Linked DNA regions of Homo sapiens: region 1 is linked to region 2. Evidence: promoter capture Hi-C in human tissues and cell types (Jung and others, 2019). All regions are on one chromosome and are shown on one strand. The core of a region is centred on a gene start or on the middle of the fragment in contact, and the rest is flanking DNA. Distances in the headings are between cores, read along the strand shown. Region 1 overlaps MAP3K14 (mitogen-activated protein kinase kinase kinase 14). Region 2 holds the start of NMT1 (N-myristoyltransferase 1).

Region 1 (6,698 bases), core at 1,579-4,078, 250 kb after region 2:
AGTACTGGGATTACAGGTGTGAGCCACCATGGTTGACCTCTAATTCATTCTTTTTAAGGCTTCATAAGATTGGAAGGTACAGATGTATCATCATTTTCCCACCTGGAAACTTTGTTTCCAATTTTTCACTTATACGTAATAATGGAAAAAACTCTACCCTTATTCACATTTATGTGTACATGTAGAAGGAATTCTAGGTGGTAAGCTCTTGGGATTGGAATTTCTGGGTGACTCTTTTGTTAATGGGTTATATCTTTTCTCCTGTTTCTATGTGTCAGAGAAGTAGATAGCATCAGATAGGTGGTTTCCAAACATTGTATTATTTATTTGCTGTGAAGATGCTATCCTTGCTTTCAACATGCCTATAGTCTAGATGGGGAAAAAATGGGTAGATGGATAAATAAATCATAAAGGAATAATCAAAGTGCTCTTAGGATCAGAAAGACCCTCAGAGGTAATTTCTTCCAACATATTACTTACTAATCCTGAGGAATGGCCATTCAGCTACATGACAGGATGGCCTTGGAGTCAGAAGATCTGAGTTTGAATCTTAGTTTCTCAATACTCTGGTGTGTGACCATGGGCAGGTCACATAATCTGAGACTCAGGAGTCTTATCTGTAATATAGGGATCCTCAAACCTACATGATAGAATTTTACACGGTGACTCAATGCAAGGAACAAAGTTTAAATTACATAGCACAGTGCCTGGCATGCAGTGGGCACTCTGGAAACATCAGTGGAACCTCCAGTGAGATGGAAGCCGCTACAAGATGAGCAGTCAGACCTTTGTATGACTGGAAGTGTAAGATTTTTTTTGGTTTTATGTTTTTTTATTTTTTTTATTTTTTGAGACGGAGTCTTGCTCTGTCGCCCAGGCTGGAGTGCAGTGACGCAATCTCGGCTCACTGCAAGCTCTGCCTGCCGGGTTTACACCATTCTCCAGCCTCAGCCTCCTGAGTAGCGGGACTACAGGCACCCGCCACCACGCTCAGCTAATTTTTTGTATTTTTAGTAGAGACAGGATTTCACCATGTTAGCCAGGATGGTCTCGATCTCCTGACCTCGTGATCCACCTGCCTCGGCCTCCCAAAGTGCTGGGATTACAGGCGTGAGCCACAGCGCCCGGCCGTTTTTTTTTTTTTTTTTGTGAGACAGAGTCTTGCTGTCACCCAGGCTGGAGTGCAGTGGTGTGATCTTGGCTCACTGCAACCTCCACCTCCCGAATTCAAGCGATTCTTATGCCTCAGCCACCCAAGTGGCTGGGATTACAGGCATGTACCACCACGCATGGCTAATTTCATTTATTTATTTTTTTGTAGAAATGGGATTGTGCCATCTTGGCCAGGCTGATCTCAAACTCCTGGCCTCAAGTGATCTGCCCACCTCAGCCTCCCAAAGTGCTAGGATTACAGATGTGAGTCATGGTCTATAAGTGTTAAGTTGCTTCAAAGTTGCTGCTATAAGGCACTGAAGCCTACCTCCCACAGCTTCTAGCCAGCAGCCCTAGCATCAGACAGAAAGTCTGGAACAGATGTGGTCAAAGCAGGAGGAGGACAATCCTGAAAGCAGAGGGACAGAGTGGTCGGCAAGAACCCATGAAGATGTTCTTTGAAGAGCATTCTGCACACCCCATCTGGCTTCTGTGTCCACTGGCAGTGCCTCAGCTCTGCGTGATGAACTGGGACCCACAATTCCTTGGCAGCTAAAGCTGAAATTAGTTGTCCTGTGGTCATCTTTGAGTGTTACAACAATCTGCTATTTGTATACACATAACTACATGCTGGTTGTTGGTAATCATACAAATGAATAATAATGACAGCTATTATTATCTGCCATGTATTAGGTAATGCGTGCATTTTTTTCTTGAATCCTCACAACTCTGTGAGCAAGGCACTAATGTTATCCGTTTACAAGGAGGAAGAAACTGGGCCTCAGTAGGCCAAGTAATTTGCCCAAGGCCACACAGCAGTGAAGTGGCAGCGGCAGGATTTGCACAAGAGACTTTTATGTCAAAGCCCATACTCTTAACCATGACACTCTTCCTACTCCCAAATGATCTAAGCTTTAAAAATTGGGACCGAGATGCAGAAGCTGTCACAAGTCAAAGGTTAGTGAGAAATTCAGGGACTGGCCTGGGAGGAAGCACCTTAATTAGGAAGCATGAACTACAGCCAGCCTATGTTCTGGAAAAAGCAACTTTAAAATGACAACAGGGAAGAAAGACTCCAAGCTGGACTTGTGGTGGGCCTGTGTTCCTCAGCCCACCCAGGCCTGACATAGCCAGGCCCATTCCAAGGAGAAATTCTATGACAAATGCAAATTTGCCATTCACTTTACAAAGCCTGGCTGCAGGCTTCTTGAACCTATTTACCATTCTTTTTATAACAAAGACTCGAGCATCATTTGCTATCTTCATAAATTTCATCAGTACTTTTGCCCCCAGGCCCTGATACAGGGCATTTTATAAGCTTTAAAAGAGAAGTATTACAATGGTATTTTCAATTCAACCTTCAAATCCTTTGCACAAGGAGAGCCAACAGCAAATAGAAAAGACGCCACAGGGGGCATCATGGATCCACAAAGACCCAATATGCAGGAGAACATGTCGGGCAAGGTAGTATTGAGATAAAAACCTGTCACACGTGTACTTAATTTTATACAATAAGCAACAAGGAATGTTTAATGTATATTGTATAAAAAATTTTTCAGGCCGGGAGTGGTGGCTCACACCTGTAATCCTAGCACATTGGGAGGCCCAGGCGGGCGGACTGCCTGAGGTTGTGAGATCGAGACCAGCCTGGCCAACATGGCAAAACGCTGCCTCCACTAGAAATACAAAAATTAGCTGGGTGTGGTGGTGGGTGCCTGTAATCCCAGCTACTCGGGAGGCTGAGGCACAAGAATCGCTTGAACCCGGGAGGTGGAGGTTGCAGTGAGCCGAGATTGTGCCACTGCACTCCAACCTAGGCAACAGAGTGAGACTCTGTCTCAAAAAATTAAAAAAAAAAATTAATTAATTAATTAATTAAAAAAATTTCAAGTGTCATCGAAATCAGCAACTTAGGGTATTTTGTGTAACTGAATATTCTGATTAAGTGGGGGCTGCCCTGTATGCCACTTAACATGACCAATTTCCAAAGATTAGATGGCCATAATTGCCCTTGACACTAAAATCATGTGAAACACAGCCAGTTTCTTTGATGACTCAAAACGTACTTTGTGATCTTGCCAAGCTTTGAGATCATCGTTACAAGCAGCATTTTGGTTGTGAAAAACAACTCTCCTTATTTAACCTTTTGGGGTGGATTCTGAGCAAGAAGTTCCCTAGGCTACGGTCAATCTCGCTGAAATACAACCACCCACCGCTCCTTTCTGGGTTTAGAAATCTGGTTTTCAGAGGTGGGAGTGGCTTCAAGCAGCGTCTACCTGTGTTCAGAAAAGATGAAGAAAGACAGGCTCAGGCTCCCTGTATAGGAGAATTCAAGTTCATTGTAGTCACTGGTGACTGGTTCTGAAATTGAGGAACTAGTTTGAGGAACTTCAGAATAAACAAGAAACCCAAAGAACTCAGCTTCCACAGAAGGCTTCCAATGCATGGAAGGAGGCACAGGTCCAGCTCCGCCCTGTGGCGGGGCAACCTTGACCCTGGCCTCATTTCAGATGCTGCCCCACATGCTCTTTGACAAGCTGGACCAAGTAACCAGCTTGAGGACATGAGTGGCAGAGGGGTCCCTTTATAATGAGGGGTCATATTCTTGTCCTCCCTTGGGAAGGTAAAAAAGGGCTTGGGACATGGGGCATGATGAGGAATATTCTCAGAGGATCTCACACGATTCTTTGGTAAAAGAGGGTAAATCATGAAACAGCCCACGGCTCTCTCGTCCTCCCCGAGGCCAGCAGGGCTTAGCGGGAGGAGTTTGGATTCAAGTCTTGTACTTTCACTCAACAGCAAATATTTAATCAGTGGCTACCATGTTTCAGGCACCGTGCTGGCCAGCAGGAATATGAGGATGACCAAGAGCCTTCTCTGTTGAAACCCTTGAAAGGCCTTCTTGGAATGCTGAACCCAGTTACCTAGAAGCACTGCCTTGATCTACCTGCCTACAACTCTCTAGTGGCACCAAGCCTATGGGATGTGCCAGTGTGGTCACTGCCCTCCCAATTCTCACTTGGAGGGGTGGGAGGTGGTCAGTTATGTGTTTATTAGCTGGCTACTCACTGTCTGATTCTACTTTGAACTATATTTTCTTTTTTGAGAAGAGGACTTGTTCTGTCACCCAGGCTGGAATGCAGTGGTACAACCATAGCTTACTACAGCCTCGAACTCCTGAGCTCAAGTGATCATCCCACCTCAGCCTCTGAAGTAGCTGGACTACAGGTAAGCACCACCATGCCCAGCTAATCTTTTTTTTTTTTTTTTGACAGAGTCTTGCTCTGTCGCCCAGGCTGGGGTGCAGTGGTGCGATCATGGCTCATTGCAACCTCTGCCTCCCAGGTTCAAGTGATTCTTGTGCCTCAGCCTCCCGAGTAGCTGGGATTACAAGTGCCCACCAACACACCTGGCTAATTTTTGTATTTTTAGTAGAGACGGGTCTCACCATGTTGGCCAGGCTGGTCTTGACCTCCTGGCCTCAAGTGGTCTGCCTGTCTTGGCCTCCCGAAGTGCTGGGATTACAGGTGTGAGCCACTGCGCCTGGCAATGTCCAGCTAGTTTAAAAAAATTTTTTTTTTGGAGGTGGATCTCACTATGTTGTCCAGGCTGGTCTCCAGTTCTTGGCCTAAAAGGCAATCCTCCTGCCTTAGCCTCCCAAGTCATTGGGATTACAGGCATGAGCCACTGTGCCCAAGCAACATTTGAGCAAATTTCTCCTGACTGTCCCTACGCTTCTGAAAATGCACTTCTTTCCCCCAGAGTGCTGAAGTTGCCCAACTGTTACCAAGCTCCCGCTCCAAGCTGACAAGTGGTACAAGACCCCAGGGTGAGAGAAATACCAAGGTGTTCCCACCCAGGCACCTGCAGAATCCGAGACGCTCTACGCCTGACAGTGCTGGCTCAGGCTGGAAAAGGAGGGCCACTGGGCTGCGCATGGTGGCCTCCTCGCTCCCTCCAGCTCCTATAGTCATGGCTCCTGACCAGCACCGGGGTTGACCTGTGAGATGTCTGCCTTCGTGCCCAGCTTACCCCTGTCTTGGTGAGGTCCTCCAGGGCGGTGCCTCAATTGTGTTTGGTTTTCTAGCACCTAGCAGACATGGCCCATTTGACACACTTGGCAAATGTTCCTGAGTGAAAGGACAGACACACTTCTGAGGAATAAATGAGTGCCACAGGCTCTGAGAGCCTGGCTGGACAGGGACACGTGTCCACACTGTCCAATCACCTGGCAGGCTGGAAGGGAGGGAGTCACAACTTGGTGGCTGTATTCTAACTGCACCCCAGCAAGCAGGTGTCCTGAAAGATGGCTGTGGAGCCTCTCCTGCCATCCCCTTTCCTAAATGCTGACCTAGAGACCCAATTACTTCTAATTGCTTGAGAAGATAACCCTTCTGAACTGGACAACACCCATCTGGGCTCGGATTTGCATATATTTGCAAGTATCTAATACATGCTAGAGGGAGGTGGTGCAGGACTCTGTCCTTCACATTGATCTATACAAAGCTATTCCTGCCTCTCCAGGCACAGCATCTGCCAGTGGAGACTGTTGGGCAGGACTCAAGGAGTCTGGTGGGTCCAATCAACTCCCTTGGCCAAAGGAGTCCATCTTTTTTTTTTTTTTTTTTTTTTTTGAGACGGAGTTTCGCTCTTGTCGCCCAGGCTGGAGTGCAATGGTGGATCTTGGCTCACTGCAACCTCCACCTCCCAGGTTCAAGTGATTCTCCTACCCCAGCCTCCCGAGTAGCTGGGATTACAGGCATGTGCCACCATGCCCAGCTAACTTTTTTGTATTTTTAGTAGAGATGGGGTTTCACCATGTTGGCCAGGATGGTCTCAATCTCTTGACCTTGTGATCCGCCCGCCTCAGCCTCCCAAAGCACTGGGATTACAGGCACGAGCCACCGTGCCCAGCCTCCATTTATAATCTTAACTGGCAACCACATCCTCATTGGAGGCTGGCTAAGCCTCCTTTTCCTCCCAACCCTCCTGGCTATCCCTAGTATGGACCAGAAACACCTACCTTTTAATTCTGGCCCAGTAAAAGGAAACTTTAATGTCAGTAGAAGGTGGGTGGTAGATTTTGGCTACAATAATTCTTTGCACTTACAGGGGCCACCATCCAGATATGACATCATGACATCATGCTTCACCCACAAGGAAGAGCCTCTCACTGAGAGGAGCCAGGCAGATCAGCTAGGATAACACCCAGAGTATGCATGCACCTCCTGCACAGAAGAAAGATGCAGAAGAGCTTCGTGCACTGTGGGTTTGGACCCCTGTAATCAATCATTGAAAGTTACTAAATACCCACTCTAGGTGAGATACTGCTTGGCTAGGTAGGAAAGTGCCCTAAAGGTGTGGGCAACCTTTGAGACTTCCTGGTAATTGTATTTTCTTATCAACCTTGACCTCCTTTTGATTACATGAACCTCATGGTATAAGACAGCGTCCAACAAATAGCTTTCTGTTTACTTTTTCTTAGACCCAGGGCAGCAGCTGCTGTGGCTCCACCCTTCCCAGGCCTGGCAGAGCTTGCAGAAAGG
Region 2 (6,711 bases), core at 4,119-6,618:
TTTGAGACTAGCCTGGCCAACATGGTGAAACCCCTTCTCTACTAAAAATACAAAAAATTAGCCAGGCATGGTGGCTCGCACCTGTAATCCCAGCTACTCAGGAGGCTGAGGCAGGAGAATCGCTTGAACTCAGGAGGCAGAGGTTGCAGTGAGGAGAGATTGCACCATTGCACTCCAGCCTAGGCAAAAAGAGCAAAGCTCCGTCTCAAAAAAAAAAAAAAAAGAAGGTTATCTCTGACATGCTGGAAGTACAGCAAAGGCCTTGATCTGTGATGGACATCATGAAGAAAACTTTTCTTTGGTTATCATACCAGTAATGCTGACTTCCTGGGAAGGGAAATACTAATTAAGTGGGTATTAATTCTGTCCTAGACACTTTTAGGGCTCTCTATGTAAGTCTTATTTTACAGATAATGACATCAAAGCTCAGAGGTTAAGTGACTTGCCTAAGGTCATTCATTAAGTCAGAGGCAGAGCCAGGATTTAGAACCCAGGGAGTCACACTCTGCCTGCACTCTTTTTTATATATATTTTTTTTTTCCCAAGACAGAGTCTTGCTCTGTCGCCCAGGTTGGAGTGCAATGGTGCGATCTCGGCTCACTGCAACCTCCACTTCCCGGGTTCAAGCAATTCTCCCTGCCTCAGCCTCCCGAGTAGCTGGGATTACAGGCGTCCACCACTGTGCCCAGCTAAATTTTGTATTTTTAGTAGAGACGGGGTTTCACCACGTTGGCCAGGCTGGTCTCAAACTCCTGACCTCAGGTGATCCGCCTGCCTTGGCCTCCCAAAGTGCTGGGATTATAGGCATGAGCCACCGTGCCTGGCCCTTTTTCCTTTGAGACAGAGCCTCGCTCTGTCACCCAGGCTGGAGTGCGGTGGCGTGATCTCCGCTCACTGCAAGCTCCGCCTCCCTGGTTTACACCGTTCTCCTGCCTCAGCCTACCAAGTAGCTGGGACTACAGACGCCCGCCACCACGTCTGGCTAATTTTTTGTATTTTCAGTAGAGACAGGGTTTCACCATGTTAGCCAGGATGGTCTCGATCCCCTGACCTCATGATCTGCCCGCCTTGGCCTCCCAAAGTACTGGGATTACAGGCGTGAGCCACTGCGCCTGGCCCTTTTTTCCTATTTATATAGAGACGGGGCCTTGCCATGTTGTCCGGGCTGGAGTGCAGTGGCATGATCCTGGGTTCCAGCGATCCTCCCACCTCAGCCTCCCAAGTAGCTAGAACCATAGGTGCATGCCACAATGCCACGCTAATTTTTGTATTTTTTTTAGAGACAGGGTCCTCTATGTTGCCCAGGCAGGTCTCACACTCCTGGGCTCAAGTGATCCACCCATCTCAGCCTCCCAAAGTGTTGGGATTACAGGCATGAGCCACCTCACCCAGCTATATTTCTGCATAACTCCATAAGGCAGAACCGGGCCAGCTTTTCACAAACCAAAATTGTTTCAAAGTGGAAAGCTCTCGGCTGGGCGCAGTGGCTCATGCCTGTAATCCCAGCACTTTGGGAGGCCGAGGCAGGCGGATTGCCTGAGCTCAGGAGTTGGAGACCAGCCTGGGCAACATGGTGAAACCCCGTCTCTACTAAAATACAAAAAATTAGCTGGGCATGGCGGTGTGTGCCTGTAATCCCAGCTACTCGGGAGGTTGAGGCAGGAGAACTGCTGGAATCCAGGAGGCAGAGGTTGCAGTGAGCCGAGATAGTGCCACTGCACTCCAGCCTGGGCAACAGAGTGCGACTCCATCTCAAAAAAAAAAAAAAAACAGTAATTCAGGCCAGGTGCAGTGTCTCACACCTGTAATCTCAGCACTTTGGGAGAGCGAGGTGGGCGGATCACCTGAGGTCAGGAGTTCGAGACCAGCCTGGCCAACGTGGTGAAACCCTGTCTCTACTAAAAGTACAAAAATTAGCTGGGCGTGGTGGCAGGCACCTGTAATCCCAGCTACTTGGGAGGCTGAGGCAGGAGAATCGCTTAAACCTGGAAGGCAGAGGTTGCAATGAGTCGAGATTGTGCCACTGCACTCCAACTTGGGTGACAGTGAGATTCCGTCTCAAAAAAAAAAAAAAAAAAAAAAAAGCCTGGGCGTGGTGGCTCACACCTGTAATTCCAGCACTTTGGGAGGCCAAGGCAGGTGGATTACCTGAGGTCAGGAGTTTAAGACCAGCCTGGCCAACGTGGTGAAACCCCATCTCTACTGTAAGTACAAAAATTAGCCAGGCATGGGGGTGCGCACCTGTAGTCCCAGCTACCGGGGAGGCTGAGGTGGCAGGATCACTTGAATCCAGGAGGCAGAGGTTGCAGCAAGCCGAGATTGCGCCATTGCACTCCAGCGTAGGCGACAGAGCGAGACAGTCTCAAAAATAATAATAAATAAAAATAACACACAAAATATCTTTTTATCTTTTATTTTATTATTGTAATCCCAAAGTGCTGGGATTACAGGCATGAGCCACCACGCCCAGCCTACTTTTTATTTTTTTTGAGACAGAGTCCCACTTTGTCACCCAGGCTGGAGTGCAGTGGCAGAATCTTGGCTTACTGCAACCTCCGCCTCCCAGGTTCAAAAGATTCTCGCGTCTCAGCCTCCCAAGTAGCTGGGATTATAGGCGCCCACCACTAAGCCCAGCTAATTTTTTTGTATTTTCAGTAGAGACGGGGTTTCGCCACGTTGGCCAGGCTGGTCTCGAACTCCTGACCTCAGGTGATCCACCCACCTCGGCTTCCCAAAGTGCTGGGATTACTGGCATAAGCCCCAGCGCCTGGCCTGGCTTTATTATTCTTCTTCTTACCTCTGACCCCCCCCTTCCCTGCAGCTGCAAATAGGGCAATCGCGTTGAACAGCAGTCTTAGACCCCGGAGAGTTGAGTGTGGTGACAGCTCTCAGACTGAGTGGGCATCTTTGACTGCCTTCCAAAGTCAAATATAAATGACTGAGGATTATCTGCTGCTTTGGATCATAATTACTTATGCTTATGCCATTGATATAAAAACAGAGTTGAGTTGGCCGGGCGCGGTGGCTCACGCCTGTAATCCCAGCACTTTGGGAGGCCGAGGCGGGCAGATCACGAGGTCAGGAGATCGAGCCCACCCTGGCTAACACGGTGAAACCCCGTCTCTACTAAAAATACAAAAAATTAGCCGGGTGAGGTGGCGGGCACCTGTAGTCCCAGCTACTTGGGAGGCTGAGGTAGGAGAATGGCGTGAACCCGGGAGGCAGAGCTTGCAGTGAGCCAAAATCGCGCCACTGCAATCCAGCCTGGGCGACAGAGCAAGAGAGCGAGACTCCGTCTCAGAAAAAAAAAAGAAAGAAAGAGTTGACTATATTTAGTTCTGTGTTTTATTTGTGTTTTCTTTCCCTGAGTCAGATGGGAACTGTTTCTTCCCGCCCTGCCATTCTTCCCATGTTGAGATCTTTCCCAAAGGCAAAGATCATTTCCCTTTTTGGCCATGGAGCACTCTGATGGTAAGAATTAGTCCTCTCATCACCCACCACACTCAACCCGAATAGGAAATTTCCAAGAATGGGAACCATGTCTTTGGGCACTTAGGCGAGATTACTCAATCAAAAGAGTGAGACTCAGGGACTGAAACATTCAATCAAGGTTAAAAACAGATTAAAATGTGGCAGTTACCTTTTTTCCCCTGATATAGAATACGCACTGGAGTCACAGTTACCTTTTAGTAACTGATTTCCTTGAGTGAATAGTGTATCAGAAAATGGGACTTTTATGGTGGCAAAGAATTCAGAGGGCCTGGGGCACACAGATCTGGATTTGTATACCGATTTGCCACTTAACCAGCTATGTGACTGTGCAATTTACCAACCTCTCAGGGCCACATTTTTTCATCTGTCAAAAAGGTCAATATGGCCAGGTACGGTGGCTCACACCTCTAATCCCAGCACTTTGGGAGGCCGAAATGGGCAGATCACGAGGTCAGGAGTTCGAGACCAGCCTGACCAACATGGTGAAACCCCGTCTCTACTAAAAATACAAAAATTAGCCAGGTGTGGTGGCGTGCGCCTTTAATCCCAGCTACTCAGGAGGCCGAGGCAAGAGAATCGCTTGAACCCAGGAGGCGAAGGTTGCAGTGAGCCGAGATCGCACCACTGCACTCCAGCCTGGGAGTCAGAGAGAGACTCCGTCTCAAAACAAAACAAAACAAAACAAAGGTTGAATAATAATAATAGGACCTATATTGTAGACTTGTTGAGAGGATTAAATGAGATAATGTACGAAATGCCTTACTACAGAGTCTGGCACTTATTAAAGAAAGAGTTGATGTGGGCTGGGTGCCGTGGCTCACGTCTGTAATCCCAGCACTTTGCGGGGTTGGGGTAGGAAGATCCTTAGAGGCCAGGAGTTCGAGACCAGCCTGGGCAACAAGGCGAGACCCTCGTCTCTACAAAAAATATATAAATTATCCGGGTGTGGTGGCTCATGCCTATAGTCCTAGGTACTTGGGAGGCTGAGGTGGGAGGATACCTTGATTGCAGTGAGCTGTGATCTTGAGCCATTGCGCTCCAGCCTGGGCGACAGAAGGCGGCCGTATTTAAAAAAGAAAAAAGAAAGAAAGAAAGAAAAGAAAAGAAAAAAAGGGTCGTTGTGGAAAATTCTTGTGGGGAATTAAAGGGACCACGTGTGCGCGAAAGAGCTTGGCGAAGATAAGTACCTGGAGGCCAAGATGAGGCGGCGAGCCCTGCCTCCCTAGCAGTGTGGTCTCCTGGCTTAGGGTCAGTGCTTCGCACAAAAAAATCCACTGCCTCTCATGAGACCTTGAACTGCCAATGACCGCAGGTTGCCCAGACTCCCGAGTGAGGAAGGCGGCCAGGAGTCAACTAGGCTTCTTGCGGAAAAGCCCACTCTAAGAAGGCCTGGGGCATTCCGGCTCCAGGCAGGTAGCACCCGCGGGCCTCAGGCCCTTTCACTTACCCGGGAAACGTAACGGTCCTTAACGGCAGCCAATAACGGCTCCCAGCGGCCCAGGCACTGGCAAGGGCAGGCTGAAATCAAACCTCGGATTTTGGAACCTCCACGCCTGAAACCCTAAACCAGCATCGAACTACAACTCCCATCATGCCAGGCGGCCGCCCGGTTCCCAAGGGTCGGTCCCACCAACCTTGCGCCCCTTCTTTCCTCAAAGCGTGGCCGAATGCCTAGGCTTCCGGGTATCAGTGGCCCCGCCTCTTAATCCGACCGGAGCCGTCCCTCGTGATTCCTGGGTATTGTAGTCAGTTTCCTGGGAAAGAGTCGCTCCTAGTGGCAGCTCGCTTCGCCAGAAAAACTACAAAACCCAGAATGCAGCGCAAATTCCCCTTGTCCAATAGGAACCCCCCATGTAGTGGGGCGCGGAGCCCTGCTCTCGCAACTCAAGATGGCGGACGAGAGTGAGACAGCAGTGAAGCCGCCGGCACCTCCGCTGCCGCAGATGATGGAAGGGAACGGGAACGGCCATGAGCACTGCAGCGATTGCGAGAATGAGGAGGACAACAGCTACAACCGGGGGTAACGAAATCCTCGGAGTCCAATTCCCGTCCAGCCTCCCACAACCTGGGTCTCTGGGGTGCGGGGAAGTCACCGGGAGCTTAGTCTAGCCCCACCCTCATGTTCTTATTGGCTAAGTCACTAGGATTCTGCCTGGCGATTGGTTATTGCCTTTGTCATTTACCAAGGGTGGGTGCTCTGGATATTAAGGGCCGGAGACGTTCAGTACTTTTATTATATAAAAGTTCTATGCAGTGTTCCACTCGTGTGCTTCAGGCCATTCCTGGGAAAAGAGCATGTTGGACGATGGTTTTCGATGGTACAACACAGGACAGTCTAGTAACAGTACAGTTCAAAGGGAACGTTACTTATAGACGTGTTGTTTGAACAACGTGACTAGCAATAAACGAATCATAAAACATTTCGCAGCAGTTCACCCTCAGTGAGGAAACTCATCAGACTATACAAACTGTATGTATAATTATATTGTAAAATATCACTACCAGAGAATCCCAAAATATAAACTCACCTTATAAACCTATGTAATTAACGGTATGGTAATGCTTTGATTTACATAGTTTCCATTGCTCCAAATAATCCATAAGTATCCTGAACGATATATTAATATAATTAAGTCTTCGAACATCTTTGCCTTGTTACCTTTGCAGAGCAGCCCCAGGCTTCAAGAAATGAGCGATGTTGTTTCTTGGAGAGTATTTGGAATCCTCGGGCTCCATACTGCCTATCCTGTACTTTAGGGTCTTGCCATTAGTTACTATTTGTTCCTAGGGATGAAGAAACACACCAGGCATTTGAATGTTGAATTCTTTTCCCAAATTAGTTTTTACTTCTGTAAGCCACAGCTTATTCATCTTTCTTCACATGGTTAGTGCCTGGCACTGGCACTCACGCTGTCTCTCCCCATCTTCCTGTCTATATTTGTAGATATATTTTTAAACTGAAAGTCGTGAGAGATTTTTGGGTGTATAACTTGCTGAGTCTGAGGTAGTCTGATTTTCGTAGCCAGCTTGTTATTCGCAGTATTGGTGGCAGTGCAGATATAAAGGTATAAAGACCAAGGACTGCGTAGAAGAGATGGTCCCACAAGATTATAGTACATATTTTTATTGTATCCTTTCTATGTTTAGGTATGCTTAGATACACAAATACTTACCATTGTATTATAGTTGCCTGCAGTACTCAGTAACATGCAGCAGCCT

What was found. Contacts are between HindIII fragments. The study calls those that stand out against the background at their distance.
Region 1: a fragment that was not itself captured here is called in contact with the fragment with the promoter of NMT1 in region 2 in 2 of the 25 tissues and cell types used here (IMR-90 fibroblasts and mesenchymal stem cells).

Annotation. Positions count from the first base shown.
Region 1 is chr17:45,304,266-45,310,963 of GRCh38, forward strand. The region is part of intron 1 of MAP3K14 (mitogen-activated protein kinase kinase kinase 14); the gene reads right to left. Among named protein-coding and RNA genes, the nearest start is that of MAP3K14, 9.4 kb to the right of the region's middle. RefSeq lists an enhancer at 3,447-3,586. The HindIII fragment of the contact is 4,981 bases long and covers 339-5,319 here.
Region 2 is chr17:45,055,949-45,062,659 of GRCh38, forward strand. NMT1 (N-myristoyltransferase 1) reads left to right here and starts at 5,369. Exons shown (of 12, transcript NM_021079.5): 1 at 5,369-5,512. The coding sequence starts at 5,382. It also overlaps a transcript of DCAKD not described here. RefSeq lists enhancers at 4,149-5,140, 5,000-5,179, 5,141-6,132, 5,280-5,639, 5,493-5,787 and 1 more. The HindIII fragment of the contact is 5,390 bases long and covers 2,711-6,711 here.